Regions from separate parts of the Homo sapiens genome. Here regions 2 and 3 are each linked to region 1. Evidence: promoter capture Hi-C in 16 types of primary human blood cells and fetal thymus (Javierre and others, 2016). All regions are on one chromosome and are shown on one strand. Each heading gives the region's core, a stretch centred on a gene start or on the middle of the fragment in contact. The rest is flanking DNA. Distances are from core to core; before and after follow the strand shown.

Region 1 (3,145 bases), core at 218-2,717:
GCCAGTAAAATGGATAGGGGCTAAAGTGGGAGGAGGCCCTTTCTGCTGCAGGGGGCAGTGTGGTCTGAGCACAGACCACATCCTGGGCACATCCTAGTGCTAGGGTTCCCTAGCATCATCTGGACACTAGGATATGACGGATGCACCCCGGGTTCCCTAGGATCCCCCAGCACAGCCTGATCCAGCGTCTGGGCCCTGCTGACAAGGCTTTGAAGCTGATCCTTCCCACTCCCACTGACTCTGATTTCTCTTCTATCGCTGTCTGTGTTTCCCACTGAGTAGAGACAGCTGCTCAGCTGTGTCCCTAAGGCCAACCATCAGGGTAATGAATAAATGAATGGGCACAAGCCCTTGTACAGAACTTGCAGCACATGACCACCCAACTAGAGCACATCCTCAAAATCTGGGCCACAGATGGGGAAACGGGAGCCCAGACAGGCGGAGGAGTTAGGTGAGACTCACACATCAGAATGACAGCCTGGGTTCCAGCAATAAAGATGGTGAGCATGGCTGCCAAACACGGCATCCAGCCAAGGACTTCCCCTTGGACCAGGACACAGAAGACAAGGGAGGAGCAGAGCCCTAGCAGGATACTAAATGGGTCTATGTGACTTTAGGGACCCTCTGCTTTTGGACTAGCCTGGAACCCAGGTTCAGTCCTGCTGACCTGGCACTGGAAGGGAGGCAGGGTGCTGGCACCCACGAGCAAGCCACAGCCAAGCAGGTAAGAATTAGTCTCCTGCTGAGTTCTCATCACCCCTCAGGCCTGGGGACAGGGGGCTGGCCTCCATGGGGTGAGGAGGCAAAGTCTAGGGAAGGGAGCAGGTCCCCGTGAGGATAGAATTTACCCACCAGCCATGGACCTGATCCAGATGCAGGCACTGCGGCCTCGGTGGTAGGGAACTGGCTTCTTGGGGACAGAAGTACTGTCACCACTGGCTGAAGGCAAGGGACTGGCCCCATGAGGTGAGGGATGCCGCAGTAGCCAGCTCCCAAACAGGGTACTTGGCCCGCAGGGCGGTGCTGCAGCCTCGGGAGTAGCTGACCCCCAGAGAAACGGGCGTTCCCACCCGGCAAGAGGCCGGTCCCGGGAACAGGCGAGGTCCGGCGCCCACGCATCCCCCTCCCCCGATGGCCCCGCGTGGGGATAAGCCAACCCTTACCCAGTCTCGCGGATGGCGTTGGTGAGGTTGGCCCAGGCCACGGCGTCAGGGTGGCGTCCGTCCACCATAAGCAGCTGGCCCGCCGAGACGTCCAGGAGCACCGAGCGGCTGCGGGAGGCTGGAGGGACCTGCCCATCGCGCGCCCAGCGGCCCCCCGGCGCTGGGATCGCCCCCGCCAGGCCGCTCAGGAACGGCCCGACCAGCAGGGCCAGCACCAGGGCCAGCGCCAGCGCCCGCGTCAGCGCCCGGGCCAGGTGGCTGCCGGGGTAGCAGTACATCTGGCCCACCATGACCGCACAATGCTGCGCCCCGCAGCCCGGGTCACGTGACTGCGCTCTGCCATGGGCGGGGCCGAGGGCGGGCGGGGCCGGGCTTGGGCTGAGCCTTTCCGGGATGGGAGGGGCTGGCGCGAGGGGAGGCCTACGGGGCGGGACCCACCTTAAAGAGCCCGGCCGCCCCTTCCACCTACGCAAACCCGGTTTAGCACACTTCCCCAAGTTTTTTTTTTTTTTTTTTTTTGAGACAAGACAAAACCTCCATATGTCGCCCAGACTGGAGTGCAGTGACGCGATCTCGGCTCATTGCCACCTCCGCCTCCCGGGTTCAAGCGATTCTCCTGCCTCATCCTCCTGAGTAGGTGGGATTACAGGCGCGCACCACCACGCCCAGCTGATTTATGTAATTTCAGTACAGACGGGGTTTCGCCATGTTGGCCAGGCTGGTCTTGAACTCCTGACCTCAGGTGATCCGCCTGCCTCAGCCTCCCAAAGTGCTGGGATTACAGGGGTGAGCCACCGCGCCCGGCCAGATTTATTTAATGGTATTTGCCATTTATTTAATACAGTTATCTAATGCAGTCTTTATTCCAACTTTTCCCATTGTCCCTCAAATACCCTTTTTACATGTGTGTGGGAAAAAGCTGTCTAACTACTACTCAAAACCTAGATGCCGTCGGGCGCGGTGGCTCACGCCTGTAATCCCAACACTCCAGGAGGCCAGGGCGGGCGAGTTCAGGAGTTCAAGACCAGCCTGGGCAACATGGTGAAACCCCCGTCTCTACTAAAAATACAAAAAAGTAGCCGGACGCAGTGAGGCGCGCCTATAGTCCCAGCTACTCGGGAGACTGAGGTAGGAAAATCACCTGAGCCCGGAAGGTCGAGGCTGCAGAGAGTCGAGATTGCACCACTGCACTCCAGCCTGAGCAACCAGAATGAGACCTTGTCTCAAAAGAAAAAAAAAAAAAAAAAAACCTAGATGCAATAAAAGATTAATGCATTTGACTGTATAAATTTTTTAACTTTTTCATGTCAAAAAACTCAATAAGCAAAGTCAAAAGACATCTGACAGACCAGGAGAAACTATTTGCAACATATATCATATATATACATTACATATATATATGTATATATATCTCAACATATATCATATAATATATCAGGAACTCTTAAAATTTGAGAGGGAAGGCCAGGTGAGTGGTTCATGCCTGTAATCACAGCACTTTGGGTGGCCAAGGTGGGAGGAATGCTTGAGCCCAGGAGTTTGAGACCAGCCTAGGAAACCTGGCAAGACTCTGTCTCTATAAAATATAAAAATTAGCTGAGCTTGGTGGTGCACACCTGTAGTCCTGTTGTGGGAAACTGAGGAACGGAGAGACCAATATGAGAGAACAGGAGGATGTTTATTTCAACGTACGCACTGGCTCAGTGGATTCACATCCAAAAAGCTGAGCCTAGAACAAAGATATTGTGGGGTTTTTATAAGCAAGCTTAGAAAGGTAAAACAAAAGTAGTTAATCATATAGTGCATAACTTGTGGCCTTGCATAGCTGGTGGCCTTGTAGCTGCATCAAAAGTAAAACAAGAACTGGCTAAATAGAGAGGTTTGTAAAACATAGTCATGCTTAAGAGACCAAGGAAAGGAATAGCAATAAAATAATTTGTCTTTCTCTCTTTTTTTTCCTTCAACCTTGCTCTGGAGGCGGG
Region 2 (3,145 bases), core at 451-2,950, 190 kb after region 1:
TGGAGCATGCTCAAGGCAGGCTGGCTGAGCTGCGATGTTTAGTGGGTTAGGTGCCGTGCGTGTGTTTTTGACGGCTATTGGGTTTATTGAGACGCAGCCCTTCGTAAGTCACGGAACAGCTGTGGTCTCATTTCAGAGATCACTGTCCCCCATTGCTCTCTGATGACATGGCCGTCATTTTGGTGTGTGTCCATTCTTCTGATGTTTCTATTTTAAGTTGTGGTAAAGTAGACATAGCATGCAATTCAGCATTTTGCCATTTCCCAGTGTGCAGTGGAGTGGCATTGAGTCTGTTCCCATTGTGCAACTGTCACCACCATCTGTCCCCAAAACTTTTTTTTTTTTTTTTGAGAGTCTTGCTTTGTACCCCAGGCTGGAGTGCAGGGGTGTGATCTCGGCTCACTGCAACCTTCACCTCCCAGGTTCTAGCTATTCTCTTGCATCAGCCTCCCGAGTAGCTGGGATTACAGGTGCTCGCCACCAGGCCCAGCTAATTTTTTGTGTTTTTAGTAGAGACAGGGGTTTCACCATGTTGGCCAAGGTGGTCTTGAACTCCTAACCTCAAGTGATGCATCTGCCTCAGCCTCCCAAAGTGCTGTGATTACAGGCGTGAGCCACCATGCTTGGCCCCAGAACTTTTCCATCTTGCAAAATTGAAGCTCTATCCGTCAGACAAAATCTCCTTATTCCCCTCCCGCAGCCCCTGGTAACTGTTATTCTACTTTCTTTGCCTTCTTTTAATTCATAAGTGTCATGTGGTGGGTGCACTTCCCCCTTGTTGCTGTCTGCTGTCCCCTAGTTTCTGTTGCTGTGTGGAGAGCTGGTTCTGCATGTCCCTAGGGAGGTCCCCAGGACGCCCCCAAAGGGAATTTCTTGTGCCTCACAAGACCAACAGTGCCGGTCAGACAACCTCAAATGAAATCTCCAAATGTCATAACACCTTGTTTTCCCAAGATACAGAGACAAACCAAAATATAATGCTATGTAGTGATTTAGGTACTTCATGCAAAATTGCAATCATATTGGGTGTTCTTTTTTATAACTGGCTTTTTGTTTTTTTCTTTTTACATCACCATACATCACGAATGTTTTTCGTTTACTATGAAATGTCATTCTGTGATGGGTTGGCACATCTTTTCTGTAAGGGGCTAGACATGAAACGTTAGGCTTTGTGGACCATACTGTCTCTGTCATAACTGTTCATCTCTGCTGCTGTCGTGTGACTGCTGCCTATTCATTTATATAGATAATATATAAACAAATGAGTGTGGCTGTGTTCCAATAAATCTTTATTTACACAGACAAGCAGGGGGCCGGGATCTCACTCTGTTGCTTGGGCTCTAGTGCTGTGGCATGATCATAGCTCACTGTAAGCTTGAACTCCCAGATTCAAGCAATCCTCCCAGCTCAGCCTCCCAAGTACTTAGGGCTACAGGCACACACCATCACATCTGGCTAATTTTCGTTTTTTGTAGACATGGGGTCTTGCTATTTTGCCCAGGCTGTTCTCGAACTCCTGGCCTCAAGTGATTCTCCCACCTCAGCCCCTCAAAGTGCTGTGATTACAGGCGTGAGCCACCAGCCTGGCCCTGTAGGCTGCAGTTTGCCCACTCTTTTCCTGAGCTGTTTAATTCCCACTGTGTGGCCATCAGCTAATTCACTTATCTAGTCCTCTACCCTTGAGACTTTAGTTTCCAACTTGGGGCTGTCCTAGTCAGGGCCACACTAAACCTCCTTGTGTGTGAATCTTTACATCTTTGCGGGGAATTCTCAAAAGTGGGGACACTGAAGAGTTTTGATCATGCTCATGAGCAGGGCCTTGCTGTATTTTTGCTAGTCTCCCAGAGCACTGTGTCAGCTTGGGCACACTCTCACAGATCAACCTAGGGACCGGGATTAAACTTCCCTGTGCGTAGGTGGGGACAGCAGCCGTGTGAGGTTCGAGGCTTGGCCAGGCTCACCTGCTCAGGGTCTGGCCTGTGGAACTCATGCTGGGTCCGGGTCCTTCTTTGCTTAATTAAGCTTGAACGTCTCCTTGCTGCAGGCCGTGTGGCTCGGGCTGGCCGAAGTGGCACAGCCTACTCCTTGGTGGCCCCTGATGAAATCCCCTACCTGCTGGATCTGCACCTGTTCCTGGGCCGCTCCCTCACCCTCGCCCGACCCCTCAAGGAGCCCTCAGGTGAGTGGAGGCTGGGTGGGGATAGGGGTCCCCGTGGAGTTCATGGGCCCTGTTTTGGCTGTGGGAGGAGGTAGGGCTGGGTTTGACCCCAGCAGAAGATGATTCCTTTTATTTATTTTATTGTATTTTATTTGTTTTGTTTATTTTTTGAGACAGAGCCTCGCTCTGTTGCCCAGGCTGGGGTGCAGTGGTGTGATCTTGGCTCACAGCAACCTCTGCCTCCCAGGTTCAAGCCATTCTCTTGCCTCAGCCTCCCGAGTAGCTGGGACTATAGATGCCCGCCACCACGCCTGGCAAATTTTTTATTGTATTTTTAGTAGAGACAAGGTTTCACCATGTTGGCCAGGCTGATCTCGAACTCCTGACCTCAAGTGATTCGCCCACCTCCCAAAGTGCTGGGATTACAGGTGTGAGTCACTGCGCCCGGCTGATTCCTTCTATTTTTTAACGAGACGGGGTCTTACTCTTGCTCAGGCTGGAGTGCAGTGGTGCGATCATGGCTCGCTGCAACTTCCAACTCCTGGGCTCAAGCAAGCCACTATGCCTGGCTAATCCCTCTATTTTAAACTCAGGATTTCCCACAACAATCCAGATTTCTGGTATCTACTGGGAAACAGTTGGATCTGGGTGCTAAGCTGTGGCACCCCCATTAGACAGGCTTCCTGGTCCCCTGCAGCCCCTGCCTGCCTCCCCTTCCTGTCAGTGTGGCCTGCCCAGCCCCTGCAGGCATCTAGTGTGTGACCCTATACTTGATGAGTTTTCAGGGGAGCGCAGCGGAGGGAAAGAGAGGCTGAGGCTCATTCAGACCAAGCCCACAGGACATTTTTAATTTATTTATTGAGACAGAGTTTCGCTCTTGTTGCCCAGGCTGGAGTGCAGTGGTGCAATCTTGGCTCACCACAACCTCCGCATCCTGGGTTCAAGCGATTCTCCTGCCTCAGCCTCCCGAGTAGCTGGGACTGCAGG
Region 3 (3,145 bases), core at 329-2,828, 170 kb after region 1:
CCAAAGTGCTGGGATTACAGGCAAGAGTCACTGCGCCCGGCCTTTTTTTTTTTTTTTTTTAAGAGACAGGGTCTCACTCTGTCACCCAGGCTGGAGTGCAGTGACGCTCGCTGCAGCTGCGAACTCCTGAGCTCAAGTAATCCTCCCACTTCAGCCTCCAGAGTAGCTGGGACTACAGGTATGCACCACTATGCCCTGCTAATATTTTTATTTTTTGTAGAGACAGGGATCTCACTATGTTGCCCAGGCTGGTCTCAAACTCTGGAGCTCAAGCGATCCTCCCACCTCAGCCTCCCAAAGTGCTGGGACTACAGGCCTGAGTCAGCCTGTCTGGCCTTTTTTTTTTTTTTTTTTTTTATTCAACAGATATTCACGGCATACCTGCAAGATTCCACGCCCATAGTTTTTTTGGCCAGGACTGAAAGTGCTTCTATCCCCAAACTGCAAGTCTTTGAAAGGGCAAGCTTTTGCCACTTGGTTTAGCTGCTCAAACCACATTGGCTAATGCCTGTATATGTCTGGTGCCAAGGTTTTTGCTCAATAACTTCTCTACCTCTTATGCAACCCCTCACTTGACACCCTCTACCTGTTGGCATCCAGAAGAAAATTCCACCCTCCAGGTGAGCAAGGAGTTGTCACCTCCCTTTTCATGGACACCATACTTCCTAATGCAGCCTATCTTTACCTCAGTGTTTTCAGCCATGTTGTAGGTATCAGTGTTGCTAATCTCCACCTGACCCTGCCTTGTCTACAGAACTGGCAATAACTGATTCTTGTTTTTATAATAGGTATCATTCCCATTCTCATTTCATTTCTCTCATCTGAAATATGTCCCTGTGGTTCAGAATGAACCCTAACTTTAGCTGGCCAGTTCTTATGGACTGAATTGTGCCCACCCAAATTCATATGTTGAAGCCCTAACCCCAAATGTCTCTACACTTGGCCTTAATTATTTAGATTAATTAAAGGTAATTAAGGCTGGCCAGACATGGTGGCTCACATCTGTAATTCCAGCACTTTGGAAAGCAGAGGCGGGAGAACGACTTGAGCTCAGGAGTTTGAGACCAGCCTGGCCAACACAGTGAAACCCCGTCTCTACTAAAAATACAAAAATTAGCCAGGCATGGTGGCGTGCACCTGTAATGCCAGCTACTCGGGAGGCTGAGGCAGGAGAATTCCTTGAACCCGGAGGTGGAGGCTGCAGTGATCCGAGATGGTGCCACTGCACTCCAGCCTGGGCGACAGAGCCAGACTCCATCTCAAAAAAAAAAAAAAAAAAAAAAAAAAAAAAAAAAAAAAAAAGGTAACTAAGGCTAAATAACATTATAAGGGTAGGGGATCCTAATCCAATAGAACTGGTGTCCTTATGAGAGGAAGAGACATCAGGGGTGTGTGTGTATACAGAAAAGGCCCTTGCATGTAATTGAAGGATTAAAAAAAAATGAGAAAAGGCCCTATGATGACACTGTGAGAACGTGGCCAACTGCAAGCCAAGGAGAGAGGCCTCAGGAGAAACCAAACCTGCCAACACCTTGATCTTGGGCTTCCAGCCTCCAGACTGTGACAAAATAAATTTGTGTTGTGGCCAGGCGCGGTGGCTCATGCCTGTAATCCCAGCACTTCGGGAGGCCAAGGCAGGTGGATCACCTGGTCGGGAGTTCAAGATCAGCCTGACCAACATGGAGAAACCCCGTCTCTACTAAAAATACAAAATTAGCCAGGCATGGTGGCGTAATCCCAGCTACCAGGGAGGGTGAGGCAGGAGAATCGCTTGAACCTGGGAGGCAGAGGTTCAGGTTAGCTGAGATGGCTCCACTGCACTCCAGCCTGGGCAACAAGAGCAAAACTCCGTCTCAAAAAAAAAAAAAAAAAATTAAGTCAGGCATGGTGGCATGTGCCTGTAGTCCCAGCTACTCAGGAGACTGAGGCAGGAGAGTCGCTTGAACCCGGGAGGTGGAGGTTGTGGTGAGCCAAGATCGTGCCACTGCACTCCAGCCTGGGCAACAGAGCGAGACTCCATCTCAAAAAAAAAAAAAATTGTGTTGTTTAAGCCACCCAGTCTGTGGTATTTTGTCATGGTGGCCCTAGCCAACTACTGTGCTAATCTTCTGTGTCTTTGTCCAAACCACTGATAACAATAAACAGGACAGAGCCCTGTGGCTCACCACTAGACACCTCCCTCCAGGCTGATATTAATCTGAAACAGTCCAAATAATCTAATTCTAATCTAATTAATTAACAACAATAACAATTTGCATTAGTTCCTATTTTTCTAACTTGTTCATAAAAATGCAGCAAGAACCATTTTCAATTTTTTTTTTTTTTTTTTTTTGGAGACAGGGTCTCACTCTGTCACTCAGGCTGGAGTGCAGAGGCGTGATCTCAGCTCATTGCAATCTCTGCCTCCTAGGCTCAAGTGATCCTCCCACCTCAGCCTCCCGGGAGCTGGGAGTACAGGCGCACACCACCACACTTGGCTAATTTTTGCATTTTTTATAGAGACACAGTTTCACCACGCTGCCCAGGCTGGTCTCAAACTCCTGAGCTCAAGTGATCCCACCTCAACCTCCAAACGTTCTGGGATTACAGGCATGAGCTACCCCATGTGGCCAAAACCCATTTTCAAAATGACTTCAGAAACACCACATCTATGTCATTTCAAGGATCGAACACATTAATATTAATAAGCTTATGCAAATTTCTCTGTGATCTTATGCCTCAGCTGACTCCTCTGGGCCTCAGATGCCCAGTTTGTGACATTTGGGGATAGGGAGTTCACCATCACAACCATCAACACTACCATTTATTGACAGCTTTCTAAGTATTAGGTTACTGTGCGAAGCACTGCAGACCCCTCTCTCATTTAATCCATCAACAATCCCCCTAGGTAGGAATAATTGGTCCTATTTTCCACATGAGTAAACTGGCTCAGAGAGGTCAAGATGCTTGCCCAAGGTCACAGAGCAGGTGAACACCAGAGCTGTAACTGGAATCCAGGTGGCTGCACTGAGTACAGGATTTGCATCTCCCTACCCCATTACCTGTATTTGTTCTTCTTCCTTGGTGTGAGGGTGGGGGTGCTGCCCCTTGAGGGGGTGGTCTCACAGCTCCCCTTTGCCCCCAAGGCCTTCGATGCCTCCTTGCC

Evidence for each region. The method cuts DNA at HindIII sites, captures the fragments that hold promoters and counts their contacts. A CHiCAGO score of 5 or more calls a contact.
Region 2: a contact is called between a fragment that was not itself captured here and the fragment with the promoter of PLBD2 in region 1, in 3 of 17 cell types (fetal thymus, total CD8 T cells and neutrophils). The highest score is 6.5, in fetal thymus.
Region 3: a contact is called between a fragment that was not itself captured here and the fragment with the promoter of PLBD2 in region 1, in 14 of 17 cell types (fetal thymus, naive CD4 T cells, naive B cells and 11 more). The highest score is 13.3, in fetal thymus.

Annotation. Positions count from the first base shown.
Region 1 is chr12:113,356,909-113,360,053 of GRCh38, reverse strand. It overlaps PLBD2 (phospholipase B domain containing 2), which reads right to left and starts at 1,467. Exons shown (of 12, transcript NM_173542.4): 1 at 1,164-1,467. The coding sequence starts at 1,453. It overlaps LOC105369989 (a long non-coding RNA gene), which reads left to right and starts at 544. Exons shown (of 3, transcript XR_945346.3): 1 at 544-724. RefSeq lists an enhancer at 209-708 and silencers at 1,044-1,103, 1,154-1,653. The HindIII fragment of the contact is 3,133 bases long and covers 1-2,930 here.
Region 2 is chr12:113,168,804-113,171,948 of GRCh38, reverse strand. It overlaps DDX54 (DEAD-box helicase 54), which reads left to right. Exons shown (of 20, transcript NM_024072.4): 12 at 2,045-2,179. Among named protein-coding and RNA genes, the nearest start is that of MIR7106, 11 kb to the right of the region's middle. The HindIII fragment of the contact is 648 bases long and covers 1,377-2,024 here.
Region 3 is chr12:113,186,945-113,190,089 of GRCh38, reverse strand. RITA1 (RBPJ interacting and tubulin associated 1) reads right to left here. Exons shown (of 4, transcript NM_032848.3): 3 at 3,042-3,145. Among named protein-coding and RNA genes, the nearest start is that of RITA1, 2.8 kb to the right of the region's middle. RefSeq lists an enhancer at 2,728-3,145. The HindIII fragment of the contact is 2,224 bases long and covers 467-2,690 here.